Linked DNA regions of Homo sapiens: regions 1, 2, 3, 4, 5 and 6 are each linked to region 7. The links are contacts of gene promoters, found by promoter capture Hi-C in blood cells and fetal thymus (Javierre and others, 2016). All regions are on one chromosome and are shown on one strand. Each heading gives the region's core, a stretch centred on a gene start or on the middle of the fragment in contact. The rest is flanking DNA. Distances are from core to core; before and after follow the strand shown. Region 1 overlaps PCM1 (pericentriolar material 1). Region 2 has its middle 5.0 kb from the start of ZDHHC2. Region 3 has its middle 5.4 kb from the start of PCM1. Region 4 overlaps ASAH1 (N-acylsphingosine amidohydrolase 1). Region 5 holds the start of TTI2 (TELO2 interacting protein 2). Region 6 overlaps CNOT7 (CCR4-NOT transcription complex subunit 7). Region 7 holds the start of KCTD9 (potassium channel tetramerization domain containing 9).

What was found. Contacts are between HindIII fragments. The CHiCAGO score rates a contact against its expected background, and 5 or more counts as called.
Region 1: a fragment that was not itself captured here is called in contact with the fragment with the promoter of KCTD9 in region 7 in 1 of 17 cell types (total CD4 T cells); the score reaches 8.8 in total CD4 T cells.
Region 2: a contact is called between a fragment that was not itself captured here and the fragment with the promoter of KCTD9 in region 7, in 1 of 17 cell types (non-activated CD4 T cells). The highest score is 5.4, in non-activated CD4 T cells.
Region 3: a contact is called between a fragment that was not itself captured here and the fragment with the promoter of KCTD9 in region 7, in 2 of 17 cell types (fetal thymus and total CD4 T cells). The highest score is 5.4, in fetal thymus.
Region 4: a fragment that was not itself captured here is called in contact with the fragment with the promoter of KCTD9 in region 7 in 1 of 17 cell types (activated CD4 T cells); the score reaches 8.7 in activated CD4 T cells.
Region 5: a contact is called between the fragment with the promoter of TTI2 here and the fragment with the promoter of KCTD9 in region 7, in 3 of 17 cell types (naive CD8 T cells, fetal thymus and neutrophils). The highest score is 8.5, in naive CD8 T cells.
Region 6: a fragment that was not itself captured here is called in contact with the fragment with the promoter of KCTD9 in region 7 in 2 of 17 cell types (activated CD4 T cells and total CD4 T cells); the score reaches 8.9 in activated CD4 T cells.

What each region holds. Positions count from the first base shown.
Region 1 is chr8:17,941,231-17,943,930 of GRCh38, reverse strand. All of the region lies in intron 6 of PCM1 (pericentriolar material 1), which reads right to left. Among named protein-coding and RNA genes, the nearest start is that of PCM1, 20 kb to the right of the region's middle. The HindIII fragment of the contact is 3,210 bases long and covers 1-2,700 here.
Region 2 is chr8:17,150,139-17,152,838 of GRCh38, reverse strand. It overlaps the pseudogene RPL9P20. Among named protein-coding and RNA genes, the nearest start is that of ZDHHC2, 5.0 kb to the left of the region's middle. The HindIII fragment of the contact is 224 bases long and covers 1,264-1,487 here.
Region 3 is chr8:17,916,188-17,918,943 of GRCh38, reverse strand. No RefSeq gene overlaps it. Among named protein-coding and RNA genes, the nearest start is that of PCM1, 5.4 kb to the left of the region's middle. The HindIII fragment of the contact is 2,365 bases long and covers 196-2,560 here.
Region 4 is chr8:18,077,410-18,080,109 of GRCh38, reverse strand. The region is part of intron 1 of ASAH1 (N-acylsphingosine amidohydrolase 1); the gene reads left to right. Among named protein-coding and RNA genes, the nearest start is that of ASAH1, 5.3 kb to the left of the region's middle. The HindIII fragment of the contact is 4,673 bases long and covers 1-2,700 here.
Region 5 is chr8:33,511,758-33,514,457 of GRCh38, reverse strand. It overlaps TTI2 (TELO2 interacting protein 2), which reads left to right and starts at 1,323. Exons shown (of 8, transcript NM_001102401.4): 1 at 1,323-1,376; 2 at 1,746-2,491. The coding sequence starts at 1,845. SNORD13 (small nucleolar RNA, C/D box 13) reads right to left here and starts at 983; the gene lies at 880-983. RefSeq lists a silencer at 672-721 and an enhancer at 1,152-1,291. The HindIII fragment of the contact is 19,476 bases long and covers 1-2,700 here.
Region 6 is chr8:17,235,694-17,238,393 of GRCh38, reverse strand. It overlaps CNOT7 (CCR4-NOT transcription complex subunit 7), which reads left to right. Exons shown (of 7, transcript NM_013354.7): 4 at 1,021-1,182. Among named protein-coding and RNA genes, the nearest start is that of CNOT7, 9.8 kb to the left of the region's middle. The HindIII fragment of the contact is 6,429 bases long and covers 1-2,700 here.
Region 7 is chr8:25,457,005-25,459,704 of GRCh38, reverse strand. It overlaps KCTD9 (potassium channel tetramerization domain containing 9), which reads left to right and starts at 1,272. Exons shown (of 12, transcript NM_017634.4): 1 at 1,272-1,506. The coding sequence starts at 1,459. CDCA2 (cell division cycle associated 2) reads right to left here and starts at 472. Exons shown (of 15, transcript NM_152562.4): 1 at 232-472. RefSeq lists enhancers at 574-803, 2,174-2,223 and silencers at 944-1,153, 1,514-1,563. The HindIII fragment of the contact is 4,823 bases long and covers 1-2,700 here.

The DNA.
Region 1 (2,700 bases), core at 176-2,675, 7.5 Mb after region 7:
TCATTTCATATCATGCGTTAAGTCTCAAGGTTGCTTTCAACCTTGAATCGCATGTAAGACCCTCAACTGTGTTTTCCACTATTCTAACAGAATACTACATTTTGAAAAGATTCTAAGGAGGAAACAGGGGTGGGGTGGTAAGAATGACAGTTCCTGCAGAGTAGAGAAAAAAATAAACACAGGTGGTGAGAATTAAGATTTTTTCCCCTGAAGAAATTAAAATGTTTTTACAAATAGAATACTAACAGAACAACGAGACAGCCTTAAGAATCAAGAAAGTCAAAATGAAATAAATGCCAAGAAGAGAATTCAAAAAAGAATAATAATCACTTATAAGGATATTATTCAAAGAAACCTAAAAACAGCAAAGTGGTTTTTAAATTATATGTAATGCCTTAAGAAAAAAAGAACTGGCAGATACTGCATTAACTGTTAACTCTTAAATTTCGCTTGTCACTATTCAGAAGGATTAAAGAGAATAAAATTCCAATGGTTACCTATTATGCTTCATGTTTATTTGCTCTTCTCCAATGCCACTAGTTTTTAAAATAATCAGCTACTTTATTCACTCTACTGGTGAACTGGGGCACATTTTACTTGATATTTGATATAATAAGATTCCCATAACTAATTTCAAACTGTGCTCTCAAATTCTTGTAGGAACCAGAAAAAATAAAAAAACTGCCAAAATACTAGAGGTGAAGTTTTACCATTTGTAAATAGCCACACACACCAAAAAAAAAAAAAAAATACAACAAACCCATAAAATAGCCACAAAATGGGAAAGTGTAGTCCTAGGTAATAAACCAGTAATAAAACATATGAAATTAGTCTTACCTATACTCAATTACTAAAATAGTACTTTGCTCCTGCCAACAGATACATGCACTTTTATAAATGGTATTTTTATTCAAACTCTTTTTTTTTTTTTTTTGAGACAGAGTCTCGTTCTGTCACCCAAGCTGGAGTACAGTGGCAGGATCTCGGCTCGCTGCAACCTCCGCCTCCAGGGTTCAAGCAATTCTCCTGCCTCAGCCTCCTGAGTAGCTGAGATTACAGGTGCATACTACCACACCTGGCTAATTTTTCGTGTATTTTTAGTAAAGACAGGGTTTCACTATGTTGGCCAGACTGGTCTCGATCTCCTGACCTCGTGATCCGCCTGCCTCGGCCTCCCAAAGTGCTGGGATTACAGGCGTGAGCCACCGTGCCCGGCCTATTCAAACTCTTTTTATGTGGAACTACAAATAGTTGTCTTTAACTCTATCTGGAATGCCATTATGCAAATCATGGAAAATTAAAAAACCAATTAAACACTGCAGAAAAAACCAGCAAAAAAAGAGGCAACCAAGTCAACTGGATAATTTTTCTAAAAAAAGCAAATGAAAGGGGTTTCCAAAAATAAAAATATAAACCAAAAAATCTGACAAACTACCATCTAAATTTATTTATTTTTATTTCATTATTTTTTTTTTGAGACGCAGTCTCACTCTGTCACCCATGCTGGAGTGCAGTGGCTCACGGCAACCTACACCTCCTAGGTTGAAGCGATTCTCCTGCCTCAGCCTCCTGAGTAGCTGGGATTACAGGCGTGCGCCACCGTGCCCAGCTAATTTTTGTATTTTTAGTAGAGACAGGGTTTCGCCATGTTGGCCAGGATGGTCCCAAACCCCTGACCTCAGGTGATCCGCCCACCTCAGTCTTCCAAAGTGCTAGAATTACCACGCCTGGCCCCATCTAAATTAATAAACACAAATATCAGAAACAAAGGGCAACTGACTGATGGTCAAGGTTTAAGAACGTGTTATAAATTATACTCGCAATTTATAAAAAAGGGAATAAATTACATTTCAAAACCTTTGTTAATATAAATTAAAAACAGCTGTAAGCTATAATCCATGGAGAGGTATATAACAAAGTAGAAAAAAAACAGTAAGGGACAGAATTTTACTAAAGCAAATTACAGTATGACAACTATATTAACAATTAATATGTAAGAGTAATAGCAACAACAGAAAAGCAAATAAAGAAGAGGAAATATGAACAGAAGAAGTGCTCATTTAGAGACTTCCCAAGTTAATATTGTAAAGTATACCTTTGAGGGAAATCCACGTTTTTGGCTATATTTCCTATTAGGCCTCAGTTCCCTGTCATTCTGAGGTCTGTCACCTTTCCCTTTTGGACTTGTAGTAACGTCAATGTCTGAAACCTGTTCTTGTGAAGCTGAATTCCCTAGTTTGTCCTCAATGCACGGCCGAATTCTCAGACTAAAAGATGCCTCCTCCTTTATTAAATAGTGTAGCATATTAAATTCTTAACACAAACTCCTGTTTAACATATAAGCCAGCCTTGTAAAACAATTTAAAAAGTACCAGTCCACCTTTTTTTTAAAAAAAAAAAAAAACAAAAATCAATCCACATCCCCCTCCAAGCAGCAGTATATTTAGTCTTTTAAGTTTTCTGTAGACTAGACTGTTGCTTACTGTAACTAAGCAAGTACCACATCCTGCGGAATTACCATACCACACAGTTGTTAAAGCACATTTTTAACATTTACTCTGCTACATGTTATTAGTCAACTTTCATACCGTCATTTTATATTATGAAAGAAATTGCCATCACAATGAATACTTTATATAAATTACAATAAATCTATACAAGTTCCCACTCCTCCCCAACAGAATTCCTTTACCCACATCG
Region 2 (2,700 bases), core at 126-2,625, 8.3 Mb after region 7:
AATAAAAGAAAAGGAATCGCGCTTAGGGAATGTAGGAATGAAGTAATGCTTAGATATGTTTTGGCTGTCAGAGATTTATGTTTGCAATTCAGCTGTAATTATATTGAATAAAATGGGAGATAATTTCAAAAGCCTAAGGATGTCTCTGTATACAGTTGATTGGGTCGAAACACTGGGACAATGTAAAGTGGAGCAAACTGTCCCTGGCAAACCTGCCTTTCAGGCACACTAGGGCTTTCACGGTAGCATTAATGTGTCCTGCCACTAGATGGCAGGCACACACCAAGCAGTGCAGCAGTCTTCACCTTTTCTCCATAGATTTCAATAGTTATCAACTGTTAGCTTAAGCAAGGCAATTATAAATATGAATTATAACTTCATGAACAATTATATATCATTGTAACTAATTATAATTATGTTATAATTGGCCAGGCGCGGTGGCTTACGCCTGTAATCCCAGCACTTTGGGAGGCCAAGGCGGGCAGATCACCTGAGGTCAGGAGTTTGAGAGCTGCCTGGCCAACATGGCGAAACCCCATCTCTACTAAAAATACAAAAAATTAGCTGGGCGTGGTGGCGGGTGCCTGTAATCTCAGCTACTTGGAAGGCTGAGGCAGGAGAACTGCTTGAACCTGGGAGGTGGAGGCTGCAGTGAGCCAAGATCACGCCAATGCACTCCAGCCTGGGCAACAAGAGCAAAACTCCTTCTCAAAACAAAAAGTTATGTTATAATTATACAGTTTTTATATTATAATTTAATGGCTAACGATTAATAAAAACGACAACCCTATTCAAAAAATTTAAAAGACTTAAAGCATTTTTCTATATAGTAAATCGTTCTGATTCTGCGTGCACTTCTTTAGAATTCGCACTAAGGTCAATCTCTTTGGAAATAAAATAGGAAATTTTCATTGAAATAATATTTTTGCTTACACTGTTTCCCTTCTTTGCCCCTAAATGGGGAGGGGCACTGTCTATGAACCCAAAAGGTGAGCAGACATGTCCTTCCAGTGGACTGACACAGCTATACTATGGATCTCTAAGGGGTGATACAATGTCCGAAGTTCAACTGGAGATTATTAGAAGTGGCCGTTGTGGAGTTGAGAGCTGAACAGCCAGCAGAGAGTGACCAAGGGCAGCAGAATTCTGCAGTGTAGTGGCAAGTGTCCAGGGATATTAAGAGCAGCAATGGCATCCTAGGTTGACTGTTCTTGGTGGCAAGATCTTGGCCATGCACCAGCTTCCTTTGTTCCAGCTCAAGCTTGATTCTCCAGGCTTCCTTTTGATTTTGGAGGAGTGCCTATATAACTGCATAACATTTTTTATGTAAGTCAACTAGAGTTGACTTGTGTTTACAACCAAGAACTCTGAATGGCACGTAGTTTTAATTTCATTCTGCATCTCATTGCTTAAAGAGTTAGTTTCAGCTCATGGAGACCAAGGCACCTTGAGAAATAGGGATACAGGAATTTGGGGGTGAAGAAGCTTACTTGGTGCCATTCAAATCACACTCTCTTGACCTGCATTGTTCAATAAGTACCCACTAGTAACATTTGTTGCCACTATTCAAATTTGTTAAAATTAACATGAAATGAAATTGGAAATTCTTAGTTGCAATAGTCACATTTCAAATGCTCAATAGCCACATGTGGCTAGTGGCTACTGCATTGGATGCTGCAGATCTAGAACATTCCATCATTGAAGAAAGTTCTGTTGGACAGAACTGTTTAGACATTTTGTCTTGTCTGAATATTCAAAAGGCTTTATTCTTGTAAATGTAAGAAACAAAAAAGTCCCCTATGTAATAATCCCTTCACTGTTTTATAGAAACAAAAATTAGAGGTAACAGGAAGTTGAAAACAATTTTACGTTTTGGTACTAGGAAATTTCTTCCTTTGAAGAGGAATCCAAAGAGTAAAGAACCACCTTTTCGCTGTGTCTACTGTGAGAATGAAAACCATTCTCTGCAACCAGACTGTCCATATTCCAGAAAATGTAGATATCACTTTGAAGGGATACCCAGTAATTGCGAAAGGCCCTAGAGGAACCCTGTGGATGGACTTCAATCACATCAATGTAGACCTCAGTCTCCTTGGAAAGAAAAAAAATGAGGCTCCGGCACTGACAAAAAATGGTGGGGAAACAGAAAGGAACTGGCTGCCGTTTGCACTATTTGTAGTCATGCACAGGACATGGTCAAGGATGTTGTGCTGGGCTTCCGCTGCAAGATGAGCTCTGTGTGTACTCACTTCTCCATCAATGTCGTTATCCGGAAGAATAGGTCTCTGGTTGAGTTCTGAAATTTCCTCGGTGAAAAATAAATCCACAGGGTTTGGCAGTGGCCAGGTGTTGCTTGTTCAGTATCTCAAGCCCAGAAAGATGAATTAACCCTTGTAGGAAATGACATTGATCTTGTTGCAAATTCAGCTGCTTTGATTCAGCCAGCCACGACAATTAAATAAAAACAAGGATATCAGAAAATGTGTGGATGGTATTTACGTCTCTGAAAAAGGAACAGTTAAGCAGGCTGCTGAATAAGACCTAAGAGTAGTCCAGGTACAGAAACAAGATGCCGGATGATTCCTAAGACCTATTTGTGATATTTAAATGATGCAATAAAAGACCTATTGATTTGGGGGAGAAAAGAAGAGTAAGGTGCCAGTTGGATCATAGAACAGTATACATCGATTTCTTCAACCT
Region 3 (2,756 bases), core at 129-2,628, 7.5 Mb after region 7:
TCTGTCAAAAAAACAAAAAAAAAAAAAAGAACTTAAGATGTTTAAGGACTGCTCCCTGCCACATTTTCTTCAAACTCTTTCCTCTTTGCAGACATAAATACTATCCGGAATTCAATGTTATTGAATTCCTTCATTTTATTCATGTAACTATGGATATCCCTAAATAATATGTTTTATTTTGCTTGTTTTCAAGCTTTATATAAATGATATCATACTGAATGTATTTTTGCTTTACTTGCTTTTTTCATTCAACATTGTGTTTCTGCGACTCATCCATTTTAATGGGTATAAACCCCAAATTTATTAAGAGCAGAACGTAAAATTAATTTTTGAATATTCCTGAAAAATATAACTTGGCTTTCTGGGTAACTTAATGGAAGAAGAGACTGGTCATGCCAAACAAAGGACTAATTGGAGGCCTCTGACCTAGTTCTTACACCTTTTGGTTAAATTGTAGCACGGTTAACTTCTCTACCTTTTAATCTAGCCCAGAGTTTCTTAACCTTGATACTATTGACAGTTTGGGCTGGGTGATTCTTGTTGTGGGGCGGTTCTGTGCGTTCCGGGAGGTTCCGCAACATCCCTGGCCTCTACCCACTGTATACCTAGAGCAAACCCCTGTCCATTGTAAAAACCAAAAATGTCTCCTGACATTGATTGCCAAGCATCCTCGGGAGTTTGGGGAGGGAGATTTTTCTCCCATAACTCTTTTGCTCAAAAACTTAAAAGTTGATGTATATAATCTAATCAACCAGCCATTATATAATTATGTCAACGAATTCTATCAAATCCACATGCGTAAGTAATGTTTCAAGGCTCTTTTTACTTTGCTCTGTTTTCCCCAGATCTAATTATCAGAACATCTCTCATTACTGCCTAGTTTTGATTCTTTATTATTAGATTTGAAAATACCTAATTACTGCCGTCGACATACAATATTAACGTTTGTAACGGTCTGAACTGCCTCTTCCTTCATAACCAATTTATGTTCTTTTCTTTCAAAAATCACTCATTTAATGGATGTAACCTTCGTGATTCTGACAATTTCATCTATAGTTGCATTTCATCAGTTTTCACATGGCTTTACTTCTACAGAGTTGTGATTACTACATGATTCTTCCTGTATTTTTCTTGTATGTATGTTTTTACGTCATCTTCTCTATTCACTGAAAATGTGGTCAAAGCTGCAATCATGTAGTAAAATCTTGAGTAAATTGCTTCCTTCCCAAGACACACCAAGTTGGAGAGGTTTAAACGGAGAGATATGAGTAACCATTTTTTAAAACTACAAGGAAAATAATCCACATCTTTTTCCTTGTTTCCCACCAGCACTATACCAAAACAGTTAAACCAGAACTATGTAACTAGATATATGTTGGTAATTAAGTAGAAAAATTGGATAATTAGGTGAGGGAGTTCCAAAAATATGGAAATATGGGCTGATACAGATTTTGTTTCCTAATTCATAGGAAAAATGTTAGAAAGGCATGAAAATTAAACCTCAGCTTTCACTTTAAAAAAGCTGTTAATCAAAACAAAATGATATGAAATAAGGACTCAAAATTATCATGGTTATAAGGAATAATCTGGAGTGATTTTATAAAAGTTGGTTTCTGGGTCAAATAAGTTTTTATTCACAGAAATAAAGAGATCTGCAGGTGACAACTAGATTTGTAATATGCATCCATACGGACTAGCAGAGGAGTATGTGGCATGATTGGGGTTACAATGATTCATGTTAAATTCACGGCATTATGTAGGAAAGCTACAGCTGTATATATTATAATTTTTTTTTTTTTTGAGACAGAGTCTCGCTCTGTCGCCCACGCTGGAGTGCAGTGGCACGATTTCAGCTCACTACAACCTGCGCCTCCCGGGTTCAAGCCATTCTCCTGCCTCAGCCTCCCAAGTAGCTGGGACTACAGGCACCCGCCACCACGCTTGGCTAATTTTTTGTATTTTTAGCAGAGATGGAGTTTCAACGTGTTAGCCAGGGTGGTCTCGATCTCCTGACCTTGTGATCCACCCACCTTGGCCTTATAATTTTTTATTTTACCGTAAAAAGGCTTCCACATTGCATTTCTCCTTCCATGAGAAAGATCCCAAAGTCAGGGGAGAACTAGCAAAACACACGTGAATTCAGATTAACCAGGTAAGAGAAAATGCCCTCTCCTTACCAGAAGAACTAAATAATTTCCAGGGCTAAAAACCAAGGACGTTGGATGGCAGGCCGGTCTATCCAAGACTCTCCCCAATCTAGATAAGGAAACAAGTAAAACTCTGATAGCGGGTGAAACACACTGGTATAGAGGAGAGGTTTGTGGGTCAAAACAGGGGCTTGGATGTGGGCCGAGGTAGTCGAGGGCCAGCGTACAGTGTGCCTGTTTAAGGATTAACAATATATGCTTTAGAATAGTGCTTTATTAATATAGTCATGAATCATAAGAATAGCTTGTGCTTAGTCCAACAATATAAGAATCAGGCGGTGAGCTTGCTTGACTGACCACAGAGTGGAACAAACAACCGCAGGAAGTGTGCGGAGCCTCTAAGCAAGAAAGCTTGCTTATTGCTCAACCTCCCACTTGAGTCCCTGAACAAAGGTCTCGTGGGAAGGGAAGCGACCCCTGCTCCATTCCCCAGAAGGGAACAGCAGGAGGCTGCTTGTAAAAGAGGAGAAGTCCTCTGCGGTAGAGATGAGGAGGAAGTCTTCTATCTCTCGCTCGTTCCCAGAGGCGGAGAGCTCTGCTGCTCTGCTG
Region 4 (2,700 bases), core at 68-2,567, 7.4 Mb after region 7:
GCTTTTCCCTACTTCTCCCAAAGAGGGAACACACAGGTGTAATCCATTCACTTATTCAACAAATACTGCTTGCCTACTATGTGCCAGACTCCTAAACGCTGGGAATGCGTCAGCCAATGAGATAGATGAGGTCCTTCCTCTCATGGAGGGTTTATTCACATTCCTTTGACCTAAATATCAGTAGCTTAATAGGATGCCATCCCATCAAAGCCCAGAAGACAAGTGAAAACATTTTCAAGCTCATGTGAATTCTTGTACACGTAGGAAACATGCCTCTTTGTATTCAGTGTTTCTGCTGAGTTGTACATAAGAGGACATTATAGGAAAAACTTGTCTGCAAAATAGTTGTTGATGAATTCAAGAATTGAATGAATGAAAAATTGTCTGGCTAGAGTTGTTTGGCTTCTGGTGGGTATGAAAACTGACATGAGGTATGTAATTTTAGATTATCCTTCATTGTCTCTTTCTGAGTATTTCAATAAGACAAGCACACAAGGGCTTTCTGGACTTTTAAAATTCACTATTAGAAGCATACATTATTTCATTGAGGGTCTCCTAATTCTTTCGGGCTCAAATATTTTAAGGAGCTGTACAAGTTATGCCATTTTTTAAGGGTATGGCGCTTTCATTGAGACCTTAATGTTCTCTTTATATTTTTGTGTTTTTTTTAGAATGTTGTGTTCAGTAGCTCTGTAATTAATTTCTCTTAATGAATGGGGAGGACATTCAAAGAGGCTTAAGTTTCTATCAAATAACCAGAAAAATTAGAGAATTTTCTGACCCAAACAGTCTTTTAAAAGCACTTTCCAGAGAGTTTTTTGTTTTTTTTTTTTTTCTGAGATGGAGTCTTGCTCTGTCTCCCAGGCTGGAGTGCAGTCACACTATCTCGTCTCACTGCAACTTCCACCTCCCGGCTTCAGGCAATTCTCCTACCTCAGCCTTCCGAGTACCTAGGATTACAGGCACATGCCACCCAGCTAATTTTTGCATTGTTAGTAGTAACGGGGATTTCGCCATGTTGGCCAGGCTGGTCTTGAAGTCCTGACCTCAGGTGATCCACCCACCTCAGCCTCCCAAGGTGCTGGAATTACAGGCATGAGCCACCATGCCTGGCCCAGAGAGTTTCAAATGCATTGAAATATCAGATTTTTACCACTTATCTTCACTCTTAGGAGACCACTGAGGGGCAGGGAGAAAGGTAGGGAAGGGCAGGGAGAGAGAGAGAAAGAGAGGTACTGTGGGGAGAGGGTTAGAGAGAATTGATTCTAAGTTGGATTTTGTTTCCTGTGATAGGGTGTACATAGTATACCATCCAGACCACATAATCTCTCTTCTTATCATCTGTTTCTAATCTTTACCTATCATCTATTTAAGTTTTTACCTGCCTTAATAGAGTTGTCTGTTATTAAACTGTTTATAAACTTGGGGATAGTAAGGAACTTTAAATAACATTAAGTAAGTTCATTATAATTCTGTTTTAGGGCTACTCGTGGGTTTTGAAGCTGTGTCTCCCTGTAGAATTCTTTTTTGAGGGGGAGGAAGTAGCTCTTTTTTCCACCCTACCCCTAAAACTAACCTTTTTGCATAAACGACTTAGGCGTTCATGCCATGTGAGCCCCTGAAATACTGTAGTCTCATAGCTGCCAACTTTCTTATTTTCTGTCACACTTATCCTATTTCCTTGCAGCCAGGTTCTATGCCAATTTCACGTTTGTTTATTGCTACCAAGAGTCGTTATCAACCTCAGACTCACTCCACATGTATTGTTGCTAGCTTGCTCTTTAGTTCTTACCTCTGGGGCAGGTCACATTCTCTCCTAATACTAGACAGAGCATTTTCAACTTTGCTCACAGTTGTCTAGTAAGAAATGTGCCTGTAATTTGATGTTTATTTTGGCTTTGGAACCCAGGGCGTGCAAATGTCATTATTAGGAAGGGATAGGAGTCATTACGTTTCACTTAATTTGCCGAGTTGATTCTAGTGATCACCAGAAGCCCTGAACTACGCGCAGATTATTCTGTTAGGAATTAAATTGAGGCATTGGTTTTATTATCTCTGTGGGAAGCTGTTTGATAGAACAGGGAAAGCCATTGACTCTGATTCTGTCACCAGCTGTGTAACTTTCTACAAGTCACTAATGGAGCAGGGTCTTAAGTCCACAACATGATCATAAAATTAAGCACTTGGGTTAAGTACCCATCACAGTATTCCCAACTCATAGGAAAACAATGGTCAGATAAACAAGAAAATGTAAAGCGGAGTATCTCCTCACAGCAGAACTTATTTACAAATTTTACAAAGTAAAATTAAGTTGCAACCCCTATAAGTCTCTAAGTAGCTCATTTATTAGCAAAATAAGGAAAGCCATTTACCAATGGTGGATTACCTAAATTGTATTCGATTGTAGTAGCAGAAGTATTGTGTCCAGGGAAAATGAAATTATTTTACATGTCATTGAGAACCCTTGTCCTGGACTTTGGGAAGAACATCAATATCAATTAAAGAACAAAGCATGTGATTTTTGAGTGATTTTTCTTGACTGTCAACATACCGATAACTGATCAGTTGTTGATATTTATTAGATGATCATTGCCAAGTTTGAAGTGACTGAAGAGTTAGCCTCTGAATCATCTGTATAAAACAACTACAGGCGAGGATGTTTTCGAAGAAGCTGAGAAAATAATGATTGAGTATAACCTG
Region 5 (2,700 bases), core at 74-2,573, 8.1 Mb before region 7:
AGACAGCGCTCTGCTGTCCCTGCGCACCCGGCGCCGACACTGGCGGGGCGGGCCCAAGCCGGATCCGCCAACCCGACGACCCACCTCCCTCAGGGCTGCCCCAGACGCCAGCTGGGGGCTTCTACCTTGACGCTAGAATTTGAATTTTCAAACGCTTGTGGCTACAGGCTTTAAAACGCTAGCTCCAGAAACCAGCTAAAGTATTGCATTGAACAGAAAACCAAATACCGCATGCTCTCATTCATAAGTGGGAGCTAAACATTAGGAACACGTGGACATAAAAGTGGCAACAACAGACACTGTGGTCTACTAGAGGGGGCAATGAAAACGGGCTAAGCTGCACTCCAAATCCCAGCATCCCACAACATATCCAGGTAACAAACCTGCGCAGGTATCTCCCAAACCTAAAAAATTAAAGCCATTAAAAAGCTCTGCATTGGCCAGGCGCGGTGGCTCACGCCTGTAATCCCAGCCCTTTGGGAGGCCGAGGCGGGCGCATCACGAGGTCAAGAGATCGAGACCATCCTTGCCAATATTTATACAAAAATTAGCTGGGCGTGGTGGCGCGCGCCTATAGTCCCAGCTACTCGGGAGGCTGAGGTAGGACAATCTCTCGAAAACCGGAGGTGGGGGTTGCAGTGAGCCGAGATCGCAACACTGCAACTCCAGCCTGGCGACAACGCGAGACTCCGACTCACAAAAGAACAAACACAAAAACACATTACACAGTTGGACAACGGAAAAGCACCCGTGCGTGTAGCATACAGCCAGAAAAAAGGGCACCCGAAAACGGTAAACACAAAGCCATGAAACTAGGCCACCTGTTATCATAAGTAACAAGCCCACAAATACAAGTGTTAAATCGATCCTTGAAGTTCAGGTCAGACGGGTAATGTGCCCACGTCGTAACAAGGTTCAAGGGTGGCACATCTCACACAAGCGTATGAACACCCAATCATCACGCTCATGAACTACAAAAGGATCATCTTATAGTTGACATTAAGGAGTGCCAAGTATGTGCCACTAATTTACACATAGGGTGACTACCGTAATGCGATACATCCATTCTTCACGTATAAAATCCTGGATATTTTCAAAGTCCCACTGAGATTCTGTGATTATTCTTTTGTTTCTACCTTAGCAAAGGAAAACAGAAACACAATTAGCGAGCGGATTATTATATATGCAAATTTATTCTCTATAGTTCCACCTCTCCGTCATTTTCCCGAGCCTGGATCTTTATTGCTTTACGACCATACGTCGTGAAATAAGAAGGTGTTGCGGCAGTACTGGCGGAAGCTAGCCTTGCGTTTTGCGGCAGCAATATGAGCTAGGTCCGGATCCTGTTAGACACCGGCGGGCGCGAGCCGTTGCAGGTACCTGGGGGTGGTTAAGTTGGTGACATGGCTCAGAAGTTTATTTCTTTAAATTTTTAAGTTTTTTTTCTTTTTAGTCTTCAGAAAGGCAACAGTAGTCTTTTAACGTCACTGTTAAAAGTGTAAGACTCTTTTACTCCCTGAGAGTCCCCTTTCCCTTTCTTGCGTCCTTTCCTCTTTATTCTTTTTTTTTTTTTTTTTTTTACTGAGACGGAGTCTCACTCTGTCGCCCAGGCTGGAGTGCAGTGGCGCGATCTCGGCTCACTGCAAACTCCGCCTCCCGGGTTCACCCTTTCTCTTTATTCTTATCCCGGTCAGACTCGCCCCCTCCTCCAAGACATCTCTCTGTTTTATTTTATTTGATTTTAGTTCTCTTTGGGTGATCGCTCCTTCCCTCTTCAACGGATCCCTCCCCGCCTCCATCCTCGTTCTGTGGGAGAGACCAGCCTTCTGGTGCTGCAGTCAGGAATGGAGCTTGACAGCGCTCTGGAAGCCCCATCGCAGGAAGACTCTAATTTGTCCGAGGAGTTGTCTCACTCCGCCTTTGGACAGGCCTTCTCCAAGATTTTACACTGTCTTGCCCGCCCGGAGGCACGACGAGGCAATGTAAAAGATGCAGTTCTTAAAGACCTCGGTGATCTAATAGAAGCCACAGAATTTGATAGGTTATTTGAGGGGACTGGTGCACGGCTCCGCGGAATGCCGGAGACACTGGGGCAGGTAGCAAAAGCCCTGGAGAAGTATGCAGCCCCCTCCAAGGAGGAGGAAGGTGGAGGTGATGGGCACTCCGAAGCGGCCGAGAAAGCAGCCCAAGTTGGGTTACTGTTTCTTAAACTGTTAGGGAAAGTTGAGACTGCTAAGAATTCCCTGGTCGGCCCTGCATGGCAGACGGGCCTGCATCACTTGGCAGGACCCGTTTATATTTTTGCCATCACACACAGCTTGGAGCAACCATGGACCACTCCGAGATCTCGGGAAGTTGCTAGGGAGGTGCTCACCTCACTGCTTCAAGTTACTGAATGCGGTTCTGTGGCAGGATTCCTACATGGAGAAAATGAAGATGAGAAAGGGAGACTTTCGGTGATACTAGGGCTTCTCAAACCCGACTTGTATAAGTGAGTACTCCTGCCCTTTGCCACCGACTTGAGCCTCACAGTTTTTTATTTTTATTTTTTATTATTTATTTATTTTCGAGACAGAGTTTCACTCTTGTTGCCCAGGGTGGAGTGCAATGTTGCGATCTCAGCTCACTGCAACCTCCGCCTCCTGGGTTCAAGCGATTCTCCTGTGTCAGCCTTCGGAGTAGCTGGGATTACAGTTGCCC
Region 6 (2,700 bases), core at 105-2,604, 8.2 Mb after region 7:
AATTTTTCAGACATTTAGAAATAAATTGATTTCTAAAGGACTAACCATAACGATACTTTTTGGCCCAAGTGAAGTGAACCCCATGGTTTAGATTTGTCAAGTGTTTAATAGGAATTCCTTTTGCCAAGAGGTAGAAACCAGTATTCTTACAATTTAAAAAGTAAATAAAAAAACACTTTTTCACGTATTCTCAAAAATGTATCTGTATTTTGGTAACTTTTTTGTTTTAATATTTCAGATACAGATATATTTTGGAAACTTTTAATATTTCAGATACACATATTTGTGGTTGGAAATATATTTGAGGTTGGAGATGGCTTTCTTTTTGGCTTAAGTGAAATCTTGAAGAATTGGTTTATATTTAGATTTCCTGGCTTGATTTTATAAGGCAGTCTTTTAGGAATAGGATTGTTGGCAGAAGAAATTATTGCTATTACAGTACAGTCCTTTATACAGTGTTGCTTATTGGAGGCATTTGCAAGGCTCATTTGTGAAAGGAGGCATCTCCTTCTTTAAGATGAAGTGTAGTTTAACTCATCCGCATGAGACATTTTCCACTGGGTCTCCTTACTGGTGCTGCTGAGAGCACGGGAGATGGGCATATGCCCCACAGCTATGGCTGCAGCTCCATCTGGGAGCATTACAGTGGCTGCTGAGACTGAGAGTCTCTGAAAAAACTTGTCTGTCACTTTGCGACGGTAGCCCCTGGTGAATAGGAGACCCTTTTCCAAACCCAGTTAAATGTATTTAAGTATGAAAGGCTAATAGAGTTAATAGAAAAAAGATTAAAATTGCACCTTTGGACTCTCTGAATGATTTTTTATTCGAAACACTTTTCTGAAATAATGACCTTTGTATTTAAATTGCATTTTTCTTGCATATATATAAAGCATTGAAACAGGTGGACTCAAGCCATTCCTCTGTCTCTTTTCTGGCACTGTAGTTATAGATGTAAGCAGAAGAACAGCTTGTTTGAAGTAATGGCATGTTTGAATGTTGTCTTTCTCTTTCTTCTGCCAGGGAGGACATGTATGCCCAGGACTCTATAGAGCTACTAACAACATCTGGTATCCAGTTTAAAAAACATGAGGAGGAAGGAATTGAAACCCAGTACTTTGCAGAACTTCTTATGACTTCTGGAGTGGTCCTCTGTGAAGGGGTCAAATGGTTGTCATTTCATAGGTAAAACGACTACATTGAAAATGGCATTTGTTTTTCCATCTCATACTTGCTCCACACTTACTTGGGTCACTATGTTAGCAATTTCAGGTTTAATTCTGGAAAGAGTTGACTGCCATATAGAGTTGTCTCCTAACTCTTAGGAGGCTAATGTTGGTCTGCTTAAAGGTTAATTTAAAATATGGGATCCATTTTTGCCTGTGAGAAGCATGTTGCATAGTGGAAACAGTACAGGTTCTCTAAAAAGTGAAAGACCCTGGTTTAAATCCAGCGGCGCCATTTGGAATTGGTGTTACCCAGGGTTTTCTTTTACTATTTCTACACCTTAGTTTTTAATGTTCTACGGGGGAAACCATTCACTTACATTTACACAACGTTATTGAGTATTTACCATATGGCAGGCACTGAGATGAGATTCTAGGAACTAAGGTGTGAATAAAACAGATGAAAATTATTTTCCTCATGGAGTTTATATTCTCATGGGGGTGGGCAGACAGTTTTTAAAAATGGAGTTCACGTTGTGATTTGTTAGATAGTGATAAGTACTATCTCAAAACAGCAAAGAAAATGCTAGGGATGGGTGTGGAGATGGATTTTAATTTTTTTTTAAAGTGATAAGGCATCCCTTAGAAGAAATAGCTTGAAGACTTGTTTTAATGGTCACCAAAATACTTTATAAACAGTAAATTCTCAATAAGTGGTGGTTCTAAATTCTTTATTGTTATGAAACTAGATTATTTAAGAGTGTTTCTGGTAAGGAAACTATTCCGATTTTGTGAAATAGACTTCCAGGTATGAAAAAGAGTTTTCCCATCTAAGTAAACTAAACTGACGTTCCAGGGACTAAAAGTAACCTTCAGAATGATATTGGCTTTTGTTAGGTTTTGAAAAAGCATTGTGTTACATAGATGTTAATACTCTCATACTTGGTCCACTTCACACATGTATCTTAAATCTGAGTCTCCTGCATGTTTAGTTTCTGTCTCTGATCTGTGGGATGTTTATAGTGAAGGACTGTTCATGTGGGCAACTTTGATGTGTACTAACCAGAAATGGTTGAGTTGTAGGTACTGAACACACTCATTCTTACCTATCATCTTTTTTGTCTCTTCTGCACTTGAACTTGTACCTTAGGAAACATAACTTAAGACTCTTGATACAAATACCTTTTTTTTAGTCATTTTTCTTCCCTAGATATGAAGGTGCAAAAGAACTGGAAAGTATTGCCCTTCCCTTTTACTGTATATGACATACCCTTTCATTTAAAAAATACTCTGACAAAATACAGTGCACTAGGCACTGGGTATTAAGATGAACAAAAACAAACAGGGTTCATTCATGTCTTCTTGGAGTTTAGAATCTAAGTTAGACTGATATATTTGAATATTTATCAAGATAGAAGATTTTATTCCATTAAATATCATTAGTTGTTTTCCTCATATTCTAATTTCAAGTAATGAAGAATAGTTTAAGAAGTTTATAAATCCTAAGCGCTAATATAATCTTTTAATGTTAGTGAGC
Region 7 (2,700 bases), core at 23-2,522:
GGATAAGCCATGGCTTTTCAACCGTAGCGAAAACCTGAATCATAAGGGTACCCCTCTCAAGACGCAGCTCTATCCATTTCCAGAAATTCTCTCAACAGGTCCGGATGCACTCCTGGTCACCCAGAGCAGCTCCTGACAGGAGTACTAATTCTGTGCTGCAGGGTAAGCCGAACAAAGTGCCTAGAAATGCCCCGGAGAAACAGCCCCGTGGCAGCGCGGATGCAATCCTACCTCTCACGCCGCACCTGAAGGCCCGCCAGGCAGACAGGCTTACTCCCAGAGCCCCGTGGCAGGCGAGCGTCGCGTCGGCCGCTCCTTCCAGACCCCGGCTCCTCTGTCCGGAAGGGCTCTCCTGGCAAAGCACCCGCAGCCGGGAGCCGCTCTTCGAACCCGGAGCCCGAGGTCCCGACGGCTGACCTGGACTCACAGCCTGCGCTGATCCTGGCCTGCGCTCTGCCCGGCAGCCTCCTCCACCCGCCTCCTCCGCCCGCCGACCGATTCAAATCCCCGACCCCGCCCCTCGGTACCGAATTTACTCTACGAATCACTCCGCCACCTCCCCCTTCTCCAGTCCGCGCACACTCCGAGCGCTCCCAGGCCTCTCCCTCGGCACTGGAGTGGCTTCCTGGGCTCGGAGAGGGACCACCGCGAGCTGCAGTCAACCCGAGGACTACAGACACCTGCCACTGCCTTGTGACCTCGGGGACTACTTTTCAGGAGAGTCTCGCGGAGTAACGCTTCTCTTAGCGCTTTAACTCCGCCTCCCACCTTTCTATTGGATGCTGCAAACTTCGAAAAGACTCATTCAACCAATCCTAACAGAGCGACGAGCTGGCTCTTACCCAATCAGTCCGTCCCTACCGCAGCCGTTTCCTAGCTGGGCCGGCTTGTGGGCGGGGCTAACGCTGGAGGAGGGGCTGACTGGTGCTTGGGTCCCTTTCAGCGCTCCACCTCCTTTCCCCAGACCCCGCCCTCGTATGCAGATAAGCGCTACCTAAACTAGAGGGTGCGCCTGCTCAGTAACGCTGGAAGCCGCCGTCCGGCTCCAGGAGCCTCTCTGATTGGCTGATGCCCCTTCCCGTCTACTAGCCTTCAGCGTCTCTTCCCTCCCTCCGTCCCGGCTAGGTTAGCCAGAGCCCGCCCGATACTGGGTGCTGATTGGCTGGACTCTGTCCGGTGACGCGGGTTGGTTGGTACGGCAGAGTGTCAGTCTCGGAGAGGTGGGGGAAGGGCCCCAGGCAGGCTGAGGAGCCTAGGGGCGGGGTGGGAAGGAGGACCGGCCGAACCTTGGGTGTGGGACAGAGTGCGTGCGTGTGGTGTGTCCCCAAGGGCAGGAAGGTGGCGAAGGGAGGCGAATCCGAGTGGGTGGAGGGAGGGGAAGGGCGGGAGGAGAAAAAGGTGGGAGGAGGACCAGGTGGGAGGGTGGCGGCTCACTCAGGACCCAGCGGGGGCAGCGCGATGAGGCGGGTGACCCTGTTCCTGAACGGCAGCCCCAAGAACGGAAAGGTAACGGGGGCGTGAGGGGGCGCGGCGGGCCGGGGGTCGGGGCGAGGGCGGACGGTGCGGAACCGGCTGGCGGGGCAGCGGTGAAGTTGGGTAGAGGGGCTGGGAGGTGGGCGTGCGCGGGCTGGGGGCGCTCGGGGACAGCACAGGGTCCCCGCGGCCTCCTCCCGACCCTCAGGACCCCCGTGCCCGAGCCTGCCCTTCAGTGCCTCAGCTGCCTGGGGGCCGGCGCGGTTCGGCCCGGGGGCTCCGGGTCTCCCGGATGCTTGGTGCGGGGGGCGCGGGGACGGGGGCGCGGGGAGGGCCGCGGTCACCTGGGCGCCCGGGCGGTCGCGCCTCTTCCCGCCTCTCCCCGAGACCCCGCTCCCGCCTGCGGGAGGAGGCGCGCCGGCTCCGGTGCTGAGTAATGATCTGCTCGGAAAGTGGCGGCGAGCACCAGAGCCTGTGGAGATGGGTCAGGGAGACAGAAGTAAACTGCCCGTGGATAAACAAAATCTCCCATCCGAGGTCGCAGACAGGATTTTTAAAATGGGGGCATTTTCTTGTTGATTTTTGCCCTCCTCTCTGAGATGCCTCAAGCCCCCACGCCCCGCCGCCGCCAAACTTCTCTGTACTCTTTTTATTATTTTGCCTTATTTTGATTCCCTAGAGGACGGGTACAGCAGACCCAAAAGGGATCGATTTGACAGTCGCCTTTGCTGTGTTAGGCCTTTGCGGAGAGTGTGGTGCTCAGTGTTCTTCCAGCGCTGGAGCAAGCCAAAACGAATTCTCTTCCTTCCCAGCCTTTTGCCCCACCCATGAAAGTTGTTCTGCTCCTTTGGGAAATTTTCACTGTTCGAGGCAGACATTTATTGCGTTGCTAAATGATACCTAGAAGTAACTCAGCCTTTACGAGTCTAAGGTAAAGGTAAATGGGTCTCGCTGTGTTGGTTGCCAAAATACTCTGCTGCCTGCACATTCGGGGAACACTGTAAATTTTTAAATAGTGAAATTGTCCAGTGGCATTAAAAATGGCTTTCCGATTATTCAGTGTAGAGTAAACATGCTCCGAAAATTCGAACCAGAGTGTGGTTTGTTGGCTATAATTTTATGTTCTTTTGGTCTTAGAGATTTAATACTCATTTAAAATCAGAATTCGTATAAATTCGAGTTCTTGAGTTATCATGAATGCTACCCCGAAAATATGTTCACGAAGTT